Regions from separate parts of the Homo sapiens genome. Here region 1 is linked to region 2. The links are contacts of gene promoters, found by promoter capture Hi-C in human tissues and cell types (Jung and others, 2019). All regions are on one chromosome and are shown on one strand. The core of a region is centred on a gene start or on the middle of the fragment in contact, and the rest is flanking DNA. Distances in the headings are between cores, read along the strand shown. Region 1 has its middle 87 kb from the start of FAT4. Region 2 holds the start of ANKRD50 (ankyrin repeat domain containing 50).

The links. Contacts are between HindIII fragments. The study calls those that stand out against the background at their distance.
Region 1: a fragment that was not itself captured here is called in contact with the fragment with the promoter of ANKRD50 in region 2 in 1 of the 25 tissues and cell types used here (H1 embryonic stem cells).

The regions. Positions count from the first base shown.
Region 1 is chr4:125,225,359-125,230,442 of GRCh38, forward strand. No RefSeq gene overlaps it. Among named protein-coding and RNA genes, the nearest start is that of FAT4, 87 kb to the right of the region's middle. The HindIII fragment of the contact is 5,504 bases long and covers 1-5,047 here.
Region 2 is chr4:124,708,652-124,713,981 of GRCh38, forward strand. It overlaps ANKRD50 (ankyrin repeat domain containing 50), which reads right to left and starts at 4,081. Exons shown (of 5, transcript NM_020337.3): 1 at 3,807-4,081; 2 at 1,349-2,623. The coding sequence starts at 1,860. RefSeq lists enhancers at 3,489-4,054, 4,055-4,620 and silencers at 3,568-3,807, 3,958-4,337. The HindIII fragment of the contact is 11,202 bases long and covers 1,126-5,330 here.

The sequences.
Region 1 (5,084 bases), core at 1,046-3,545, 510 kb after region 2:
CAGGTTATGACTTGTACTTCTGACCAAAAGTGTGCATGATTTTAGAGATAGGAAGAGACACATTTCTAATTGCTATTTATTTACCTATGTCTATTTGCAACAAATTGTTCCTAAAACACTATCATCTTCACATTTAGTATCAAGGTGTTCCAGTTATCTATTTTTGTATAATAAACCATCCCAAACTTAGAAGCTTACATGACAATTTTCCCATTTAAATGAAAGGGCAGTGCTGAAGTGCCAGACAATGAAATCCCTCTTAGTTGACCACACCACTTTCTAAAATGAGAAAACTATGTTTGTATATTACCAAATGTGTCAAACAGAGAATGGTAAATGGTTCACTTGGTGCATCAATCATTCTGAAGTAAGAATATTAAGTTTTTGATGACCAGAGTAAGTGGTAGAATTCGTCCTTTTTTCTCCTTCTTTGGGAAATGAGAGGTTATCAATGATACTTAAATGAAAAGCATGTAAGTTTCAATTCATATATGTTTTGTGAAGGGTAGAAAATTTTGGAAGCTTTTTCTAGTGCCTCTTAATCCTTGGATTTGGACCCTTCTGAAAGAAAGTGATAAGCTCTACAGTTGAACAGCATGGAATGCACTAGGAGGAATGAAACAGTTCACTCACCATGACCCTAGGATAATTCCATGGTTAGTGGCTTGCTCAGAGATGAGAATGGTGAACACTGTGAAACTTTATGGCATTATGAAACTGCTTTCCCAATTCAACTCTAGAACATTACGAACTTGGCCTCTCAAAGCTTCGATTTATTTACTTTTATAAATGGAGATAGAAATAATAATATAGTGGATGACACACAGTATGTAAGAGAGCTTCATGTAGTGGCTAGAAAAGAGTTTACCCTAAATAAGTGGTTGCAGTAGTTATAGGAGTAACTAGATCTTCTTAAAAAGGTATTTCTCTTAAAGAAATACTTATATTAACAGGCTGTGAGTTGAAGACCTAGCAAATATCCACCAAGGTACGCCAAAGGAAATAAACTAATTTTTTAAAAGTTTCCCACTAAGCTAATATTTATTGAATGCTTTTTTTTATGCCAAACGGTGCACTCAGTGAATAAAACAAATATCTTGCCCTTTCGTAGCTTTCAACTAGGAAGAACATAATAAGTAACCAATAAATGAGTTATAAATGCCCAAATTCTAGGAAGGCCACTGATACTTCTGAAAGCATAATAGAAGGAGGCTATATTTACTATCTTTACTTTCCTCATTCAGTGAGGAAGAAGTAAATAAGTAACCAATAAATTGCTTATAAATGCCCAAATGCATTGAAGGATACTGATACTCCTGAAAGAGTAATAGGAGGAGGCTATTCTACTAATCAAGATTGTTCTTGATTACTAAGCATAATCAAGGAATATCTCTGAAGAGGTGATATTTAAACTGTGTCCAGCAATATGACAATCGCCTAACTGTAATTAGTTAAATAAAAGCCCTTAAAATAACAGCAATTATATATACAAAGTCCCCAAAAAGAGACATAGCTAGGACATTCAAGAAGTAAATGAGGCCCATGTAGCTGGAAGGTGGAGAGAGGGAAACTGATATGAGGCTGGGCAAATGAGAATGGGTCAGGCCATACAGGTTCCTATACACCAATATTATAAATTCAGATTTTCTCTGAAAAAAAATAGGAAGACACTGAAAAATTTTAATAGAGTATGCTGTCTCCAATTTCTGTATATTTGTGTGTGTGTGGGTGTGAGTGTGTGAATATTATTTTATAATTGTTTAAAGATTGACTTGAATAAGCAATAGAGGAAGAAGGTGGAGACAAGCAGAAGTAACTAGGGTCACCCTGGAGAAGACAGAAAGAAATGTACAGATGCGAGATATATTTTAGAGAAAGAATTGACAGATTTGATGGATTAGATGTGGGGGTTAAAATAAAAAGAAGAACTAAATAGAAAGGATGATAGTAATATATGCTCAAGTACAGTTAATGAGGTTTTATGGGTAAAAGCAGAAATTCTGTTTTAGGATTTTAATTTTGAGAACTTAGCCTGACATCCAAGTGAAAATTTCAAGTGCACAATGATCTGAATCCAGATTGCAGATATACACTTGGAATCATCAAACCACAGATAGTGTCCAAAAGCATGGATTTAGGAGAGCTCCCCACAGGACAGGGTATGCAGTGGAGTAGAAAGACCTGGAACTGAGTCCTGAGAAACTGCTGATGGGGCCGAGGGGAAAGGCTCACAGGACGAGTGGCCAGAGAGTTAGAAGAAAAACTAGAAGGAAATGGTGTCATGGAATCTGAAAGAGGATTTTGTGTTCCAGTAGGACAGTATGGTGAATCTGGCCAAACGCTGTCCAGGAGACCAAGAAGCATGAGGATGAAAGAGAAACATACTCACTTTGGCAGCATGCAAAGCAGTTGTGACAAGTTCAAGTCATGGAGGAATCCAGATGGACTCCCATGTGGCTCAGGCTCATGTTAGTGACCCAATTAAAGATATAATCAAGCTGCCAAAAGCCATTAATGACAAGTCTTGAAATACATTTATATAAGAATATTAAAGGATATCCAATTCATAACCCCAAAGTAAAAAGTCCTTAACTTCCCATATTCTCTCCTTTTTCATCCTCTCACACATCTGAACTTTCACTTCCTCCAAATCCCCACATTTGCTCCTTTTCTATCTCCATTATTTTCTGAATTCTAATGTATAAAGTTAAAAATCTCAGATTTTTTGTTGAATTTTTTAGTGGTTTTGTTTTACTTTTCCTATGCTTTGATTTTATTCTCTTTTTTTTGTAATAAGCAAAGGTCTGGGAAATATCCCAGCAAACAAAACCACAGTCTTTCAAATGATCTCTACAGCCTTATCTTTCTCTGCCTACATTTTCTACCTTGTCACTAACATTTTGGGACTTAGGCTGGCAAAAGCAGACCTTTCCTCACAAAACAACGAGAAGATGGTGGAACAAAGAGCTAGGGTGCAAAGCAAAAATTAACATCAGAATGCAGAAGGTGGAAGAGAGGAAATAGAAAAGGTGTAAATGTGTGTATGTTAATAAATGTTGTTCCTTGTCACAGACCATCACAGAGATTTATCATTCATAGTGATCCACCTAGCAAAAAGCACCAATGTCAAAGTGTCTTAAAAAAGCCACCTTATTTGCCAAATTCAATGAGAGAAGAAATATATGACCTTTTTAAAATAACTCATTCCATTTGAGACCAAAAAATAGCTTGTTACAAGAACACTTGTACAGTTTAAGAAAGAGGAGTATATTTAGGCAGTGTTGCACCAACTCAAAAGTTAGATATAAAGCATTTAAAATATATACTAAAGAAAAGCACCCTGAGATTTGGTTTTCACTTTCAGGTATGCTCAAGAATGTTAAAATTCTCAGAGGCAATGAGAAGCCACGCTTCCTTGGAATGTGATCCACGGCCATAAATAAATGAGGTTTACTCAGTGTGTCTGGACTGGGTGGGTTCTTGGTCTCACTGACTTCAAGAATGAAGCGGCAAACCCTCGGGGTGAGTGTTACAGCTCTTAAGGTGGCACGTCTGGAGTTCGCTCTTTCTGACGTTCAGATGTGTTCAGAGTTTCTTCCTTCTGTTGGGTTCGTGGTCTCACCGGCTCAGGAGCGAAACTGTAGACTTTCACGGGGAGTGTTACAGCTCTTAAGGCAGCGCCTCTGGAATTGTTCGTTCCTGCCGGTGGGCTCGTGGTCTCACGAGTCAATCTGCAGACCTTCATGGTGAGAGATACAGCTCATAAAAGCAGTCTGGACCCAAAGAGCAAGCAGCAGCAAGATTTATTGCAAAGAGCAAAAGAACAAAGCTTCCACGGTGTGGAAAGGGACCTCAGCAGATTGCCACTGCTGGCTGGGGCAGCCTGCTTTTATTCTCTTATCTGGCCCCACCCACATCCTGCTGATTGGTAGAGCCAAGTGGTCTGTTTTGACAGGGTGCCGATTGGTGTATTTACAATCCCTGAGCTAGACATAAAGGTTCTCCAAGGCCCCACCAGAGTAGCTAGATACAGAGTGTCCATTGGTGCATTCACAAACCCTGAGCTAGACACAGGGTGCTGATTGGTGTATTTACAATCCCTGAGCTAGACATAAAGGTTCTCCACTTCCCCACCAGACTCAGGAGCCCAGCTGGCTTCACCCAGTGGATCCCGCACTGGGGCTGCAGGTGGAGCTGCCTGCCAGTCCCGCGCAGTGTGCCCGCACTCCTCAGCCCTTGGGTGGTTGATGGGACTGGGTGCCGTGGAGCAGCGGGTGGCACTCATCGGGGAGGCTGGGGCGCACAGGAGCCCGTGGAGGAGTGGAAGGCTCAGGCATGGCGGGCCGCAGGTCCAGAGCCCTGCCCCGCGGGAAGGCAGGTAAGGCCCACGAGAAATTGAGCGCAGCGCCGGTGGGCTGGCACTGCTGGGGGACCAGTACACCCTCCGCATCCGCTGGCCCGGGTGCTAAGCCGCTTATTGCCTGGGGCCGGCAGGGCTGGCCGGCTGCTCCGGCCGGCTGCTCCGAGTGCAGGGCCCGCCAAGCCCACGCCCACCCGGAACTCCAGCTGGCCCGCAAGCGCCGTGCGCAGCCGGTTCCCGCTCGCGCCTCTCCCTCCACACCTCCCTGTAAGCTGAGGGAGCCGGCTCCGACCTTGGCCAGCCCAGAAATGGGCTCCCACAGTGCAGTGGTGGGCTGAAGGGCCCCTGAAGTGCCACCAAAGTGGGAGCCCAGGCAGAGGAGGCGCCGAGAGCGAGCAAGGGCTGTGAAGACTACCAGCACGCTGTCACCTCTCAATAGGACTCCAGAACACCAGCCTCTAAACACCAACTAATTGCTAAAAATAGTAAGTGGAGTAAACAGTGCATAATTACGAATTTAAACTCACATTGTATTAAATCTCCTATTTTGACACTTCATTAGAAATATCATATTGGCCAAACCACAGATCTAAAATATTTATAGTTTGATTTTTCTCATTTTACAAATAAGACAATTAAGACATTAAAAATCAGTGTCTTCACTAAGAAAATGAATTTGTTAGACTGGAAAACTGTTGCAAATGTTCAGCTATTCCTTAATGTA
Region 2 (5,330 bases), core at 2,831-5,330:
CATCAAGTCCCCCAGAGAATTTCTAAGATTACTAACACATACACACACACACACACACACACACACACATACACACACACACATTTAAAATCTCAGCCCTGCCATTTACTAGTCTGTAACCTTGAACAATTTATTTAGCCTCTCTGTACCTTAGTTTCCTCATCTATAAAATGGGAGTAGTAACTACCTCACAGGATTATTATGAGGATTAAATGATCTAATATTTGTAAAGCACTTAGAATAATGACTGACACTTACTGTTTACTGTAATTACTATTAAATATTTTCAATATTACTTTCAAAATGTATAGATTTCACCCCATTAGATTTGAGGATATCATAAAAACAAACATCACTCTTTTTAGAGTGATTCAAATCTCTCCTAGAAACACACTCAAGCAGAAGAGAGCCACACACACACACACACACAAACCTCCAGTGCACAGTATACCAGAATCTTTGGAGAACAAACTTTTGCCCGCTAAGAATGTTATTGTAGAGAAAAAGCTTATGGCAAAATGGGTAATTCAAGCAGAAGTGAAGCACAAACTAACAATTTGCCTGCTACTTTTACAATGAGCAGAGGCATGATATGCAAAAAAAAATGTTTTCAAGGAATTATATTTTCTTGAACAGATTTGAATCTGAAACCACTCTGGAAAGCAACTTGCTCACTTCCTGGACCAATCCATTTACCATGGAAAAAAAGCTTTGCTGAAGTTAGGAAAAAACACTTTCTTTGTACCACTCACTAAAAGTAAAAGTAGTAAGATGATCCCAAATGTTCGCTATTTTATAAATTCACATACTTCTAAATACCAGTTTTTCAATTAGTTAGTTAATAGGAGAATAAATCCCAAAACTCATCAGCAAATTTTCTTCAGATTCTCAGTGGCCAATAATCTCCTTTAAAGAAAACCTTTCTTACTTAAAAAAATACTACTACTATAAGGAAAAAAATAAAAAGATACTAGATGCTATACTGATAATTACTCTAAGTTCAGTTCACCCTCTGAAAATGTAACCTATTTCCAGACAGCTAAATGTGCTTCTCTACCATAAGAACAAATTTCCCTTACCATTTATAGGCAATGTAAGTAACATTATGTTATTAAGTAAAATTAAGATACACTTTTAATCCATTTTAATCCATATGCTGTGCAATACCAAAACCTAAATTTTACTTCCTTTGATATTCAAAGTAAACAGGTATACTCATAACTTCAGATTAAGGCCAAATGTACAGCACCAGTAAAAGTAACCCACAAAGTTAAAACAAAAAACTACAACTAAAAATTAATTTAATTTCAGCATAGAAATCTGAACACCATGACATTTTTATTGTTACCTTTTAAATGCTTCGGCTGGGTTTCTCTCGCACTCCCCAGGCTGTAAGAGGCTTTGGACTGCTGGATCCCTTAGCTTGTCCTCATATCCTTGGAGTAGTCCACTGCGGCAGATCTGGGCTACTAGACCTCTAATAAACCCTCCAACACACAAAGTATCAGAGTCCTGGGCTTTGCAGAAATGAAAGGCCAAAGCTTGGCGATGTAAACCTCTCTGCAAACTTGCAGGTGAACTTGGCCATAAGAGTTCAGTACATAGGGCCGTCTTGCCACTGCCAGGCCCTCCTACCAACAACACACCCCAGGCAGCTCCCTTTCCAGAGACACCACTAGCATTATTCCCAGAATTCATTACAAGTGATGGTGCATTGACAGCACTATTGCAGCAGTTACTTTTCTCCTGGAGGCAATGCTGAAGCTTGTGGAAAACCCACTCCCTACAGTAAAACTGCTTCCCTTGCAGTAAACTGGTTTGAGCCATTTTGCAGACTTTCTCTTCCCAAGGATTAGTCATAACGGGTTTTTTATCTTCATTTGCTAGAGTCTGGATACATCAACACAGGTCTTTCCATCCATTATGACATAACTTGTATATTAAGTTGACTCTGAAGACAGAGTAACTAGTTACAGTAAAATTCAACAGCCACAGAGTTCCTCTGTCAACAGAACGTGCATGACTTTATTTGGTTCCTTATTCTTGATCAGCAGTCTATGTATTAGTTGTTGAACTGAGGGAGAAACGCCTGATTCCACAGCTCAGCAACACTTTTCCTAAATTTTAATGAGTCACATAACTCCATGGTTATAACTGGAGTTTATGTGATTGTGGATGTTTCAAGAACAGAGATGAGACAATACATGTGGAAAACTAAAGAAAAAACCCAATCTTTCAATTTGTACAAAATGCTTCTCCAGATTCCAAGTGTTAATTCTGCATCTGACAATTAGATTCTGAAAAGAGGTCCACTGCATTAAATGGCATCAGAGAGATTACATTTATACGGTATGAGGTACAGTATGTAAGTAGCTCTGTATTTCTCGTTGAAGGATGATCACTCAAGAGTACTAGATCGTGCCAGTTTCAGGCATCTGGGCAACTGCCAGGAACTGTTTCAGATTATAGTCTCTTATGTGGCAGAAATGACAACCACTGTTAACACCTTCTTAATTCAAAGCATTCATAATATGCATTTTTCAAGACAGCAGATTCTTAATGAACCTGTTCACAGGTTTCTTGGTTTTAAGACGTCCGGGTAATCAACAATTTCCACAAGTAACTAAAATAAAACAAACAAAAATACCTCAGTGCAAAATATCATATGTTAAAAACTTATTAAGGACAATAAAGGTTGCAGTGTACCAGTTAACGTAATCTCAAAAATCCACGTACTTCACCTTTGGCACTTTCAAAAAGTTGGACAAAAACCACTGAAATAATCACATTCTCCCTTCTGCATTTTTCTTCCTCATTGTTATGCTTCCCAAACAGCCACATTTTAATCAAGTTACCCAAGATTTTTGCAACTTCACCATAGCAAAGGAGGGGGGGAGAAACTTTACGCACATACAGTAACACCCTTAACTCCAGGCAAAACGCTCATTCACAGTAGACTGGTAGAACAGCGCCAGCTAAGGAAGCTCTATTAACTTACACAGTCCAGTCAGTCAAGGACTGTCTACTCCTCCAGCCACACTTCTTTGTTGATAATGTGCAAAAATCTAGGGGAAGATTACCAGGGTTGCAGCTGGATGGGAAACGGTTTAAAAAAAAAAAACAAAAACGATGGGGGATGACTGTTCTTATAAGAATGATAAAGCAAACACAAGTAAAATGTGAATCCTTCCTTCCTCTGGGCCAAGGATGGAGGTCAGGGATAAAATCTACCAGTCTGGCCGGAGAAAAGGCTGCTAGAGAGAAATTCCTTCCAAGACAGGAAAGGGATAAAGAGTAGAGTGCTTCGGTGCTGGTGGGTGTCTGCCCACAGGTCCGGCCTCCAGTTTCAGCTGACAGACAAAAGGAACTCCGGGATTCCCAGCGCCGGGCACCACCTTGGGTTGGAACCGCCCAGAGGAGCCACAGGGGAGCCACCTCAGAGAGGCCACGAGCGAAGGTGCAGCCTCCACACCGAGGTCTGCCCTTCCAGAGGCTGGGAGCGCCTCTGCACCCCGCCCCGCACCGAGATTGGGGTGTGTCTTTTGAAGGGGGAGGGGGTGACTGAGGTCCTTGCCAATCCCAGACGAGGGGTCGCCTCCCGGTCGGCTTCCGCCTCTGCGCTCCCGCCCCATGCCCCGCTCCCGCTCCCACCCGGCCGACGGCGGTGCGAGGGAAGAGGGCAAATCTGGGGCTCGAGGCCGGAGAGGGTGGGTGGTTGGGTCAGGTCCAAGCCACGGCCTCGGCCTCCCAGCTTCCAACCCGAGGGAGGGGCCTCGCTTCCACCGCCGCCGCCGCCCCCCGGTTACCTCGGCCCCAGCCGCCGCCGTGGCCGCCGCTGCCGCTGTTAGGGACTCTCAGTCTCAGACACTTGCTTCGCTGAGAAGTCGCTGCCAGCAGCGCTCCCAAGACTCCACTCCAACTGCAGCCGCCTCCTCCGCCGGGCCCGGGGCACGCTCCCAGCTCCGGATCCTCCTCTTGGCCCCCGGCGGCTGCCAGTTCCAGCTTTCCCAGCAGAATCGGTCGTGCTCGCCCCAGCCCCCACCGGCCAACCGCCGCCGCCGCCGCCGTCAGGGCAGTAACTGTCTCAGGCAGCCCCCGGCCGGCCGGCTCCGCCCCGCCCGCCCAGCCCAGACCCCGCCCCCGCCCCCGCCCCCGCCCCGCCGCTCGGCCTTTCTTTGCCCGCCGGCTCCGCCTCCGCGTCCTTCCCCTCCCCCACCGCGCTCTCCCGCAGCATCCCGTGCCTGGGCGTGTGCGGCCGCCTGGGACCCGCTGCCGGCGCGGCGGGGAGACCTGTCTCGGGGCGGCGTGGGGGCCCCGCCTTTCTCAGGGGAGGCGGAGAACGGGGCGGGGGCTGCGTTCTCACGTCTCCGAGCTCACGCGAGTCGTTGCCCCCACCCTCCCCGTCACCACTGGGCCCTGATCCTTCCTTTGTCTTCCAGGCCGGAGGGACTCGCCGGCTGTTGGTGCCGTATCTGCTCCTGGGAGGGGCAGTTGGGTAGGGGGAGATTGCCTCTTGCCTCTCTCTGCTCAACCCTTTTGCCTCTCCCTTAACCCCGTTGCTTCCAAAGCCACTTCGGGCCCCGTTCTACCCCTCAGTCGTCCGGTCTCCTTTCAGTCCATTAAATTCCAGGGATGCTTTTACTTTGGCTGGGACGAAGAGAAGGAAGGAAAAGACTGGGAAGAATGTTGCGAAAATAGAAATAGTGGGGGTATACAGCGACATTCCTACCAGCCTCATGAAAAGGACGTGGCCTCCATCAGATGGAGGTTGACAGCAGGCTTGACTGGGTCTCAGGCCCCTGCTCCTCAGGGCCACTTGATCACCCGCAGCGTCCACTAGGGGGGAAGGTCTTGGTCATGTGGCGTCAGGAAATGCCCTAGAGGGCCTGCTCACAGGGGCCTGTTGGACTAAGCATGTCAGTTGTTTGCACTTACTGGACCTGAGTTGCTTAGATTCCAAATTTCTCCCGGGAAAATAAGTATACCGTCAACTGATGGAATAGGAAATGTAGCATTTTTTATTTTAATTGTTTATGCTAAAATCCAGAGTGCTCTATTTCCCATTCCTCATTAACTTGCATGTGGTTATTTGCCAAAATATTAAGCCAGTCTCCCATCTAGTTTTAGAAATTTCATAGTATAGCTATCACAATAAGAAAGATGGATAAACAAATAGATCGTGTTTGTGCTTACTCTTTCATATTGTTTATTCGTGCCAATTGAGGTTTACTGATCTTAGTATTTAATTTTAATTCATGTACCCTGAATTTTGGGCTTCTTTCCTAAAACACAAGCAAAAGAGGCAGAGTATAAATTCTCCAGAATTAGGG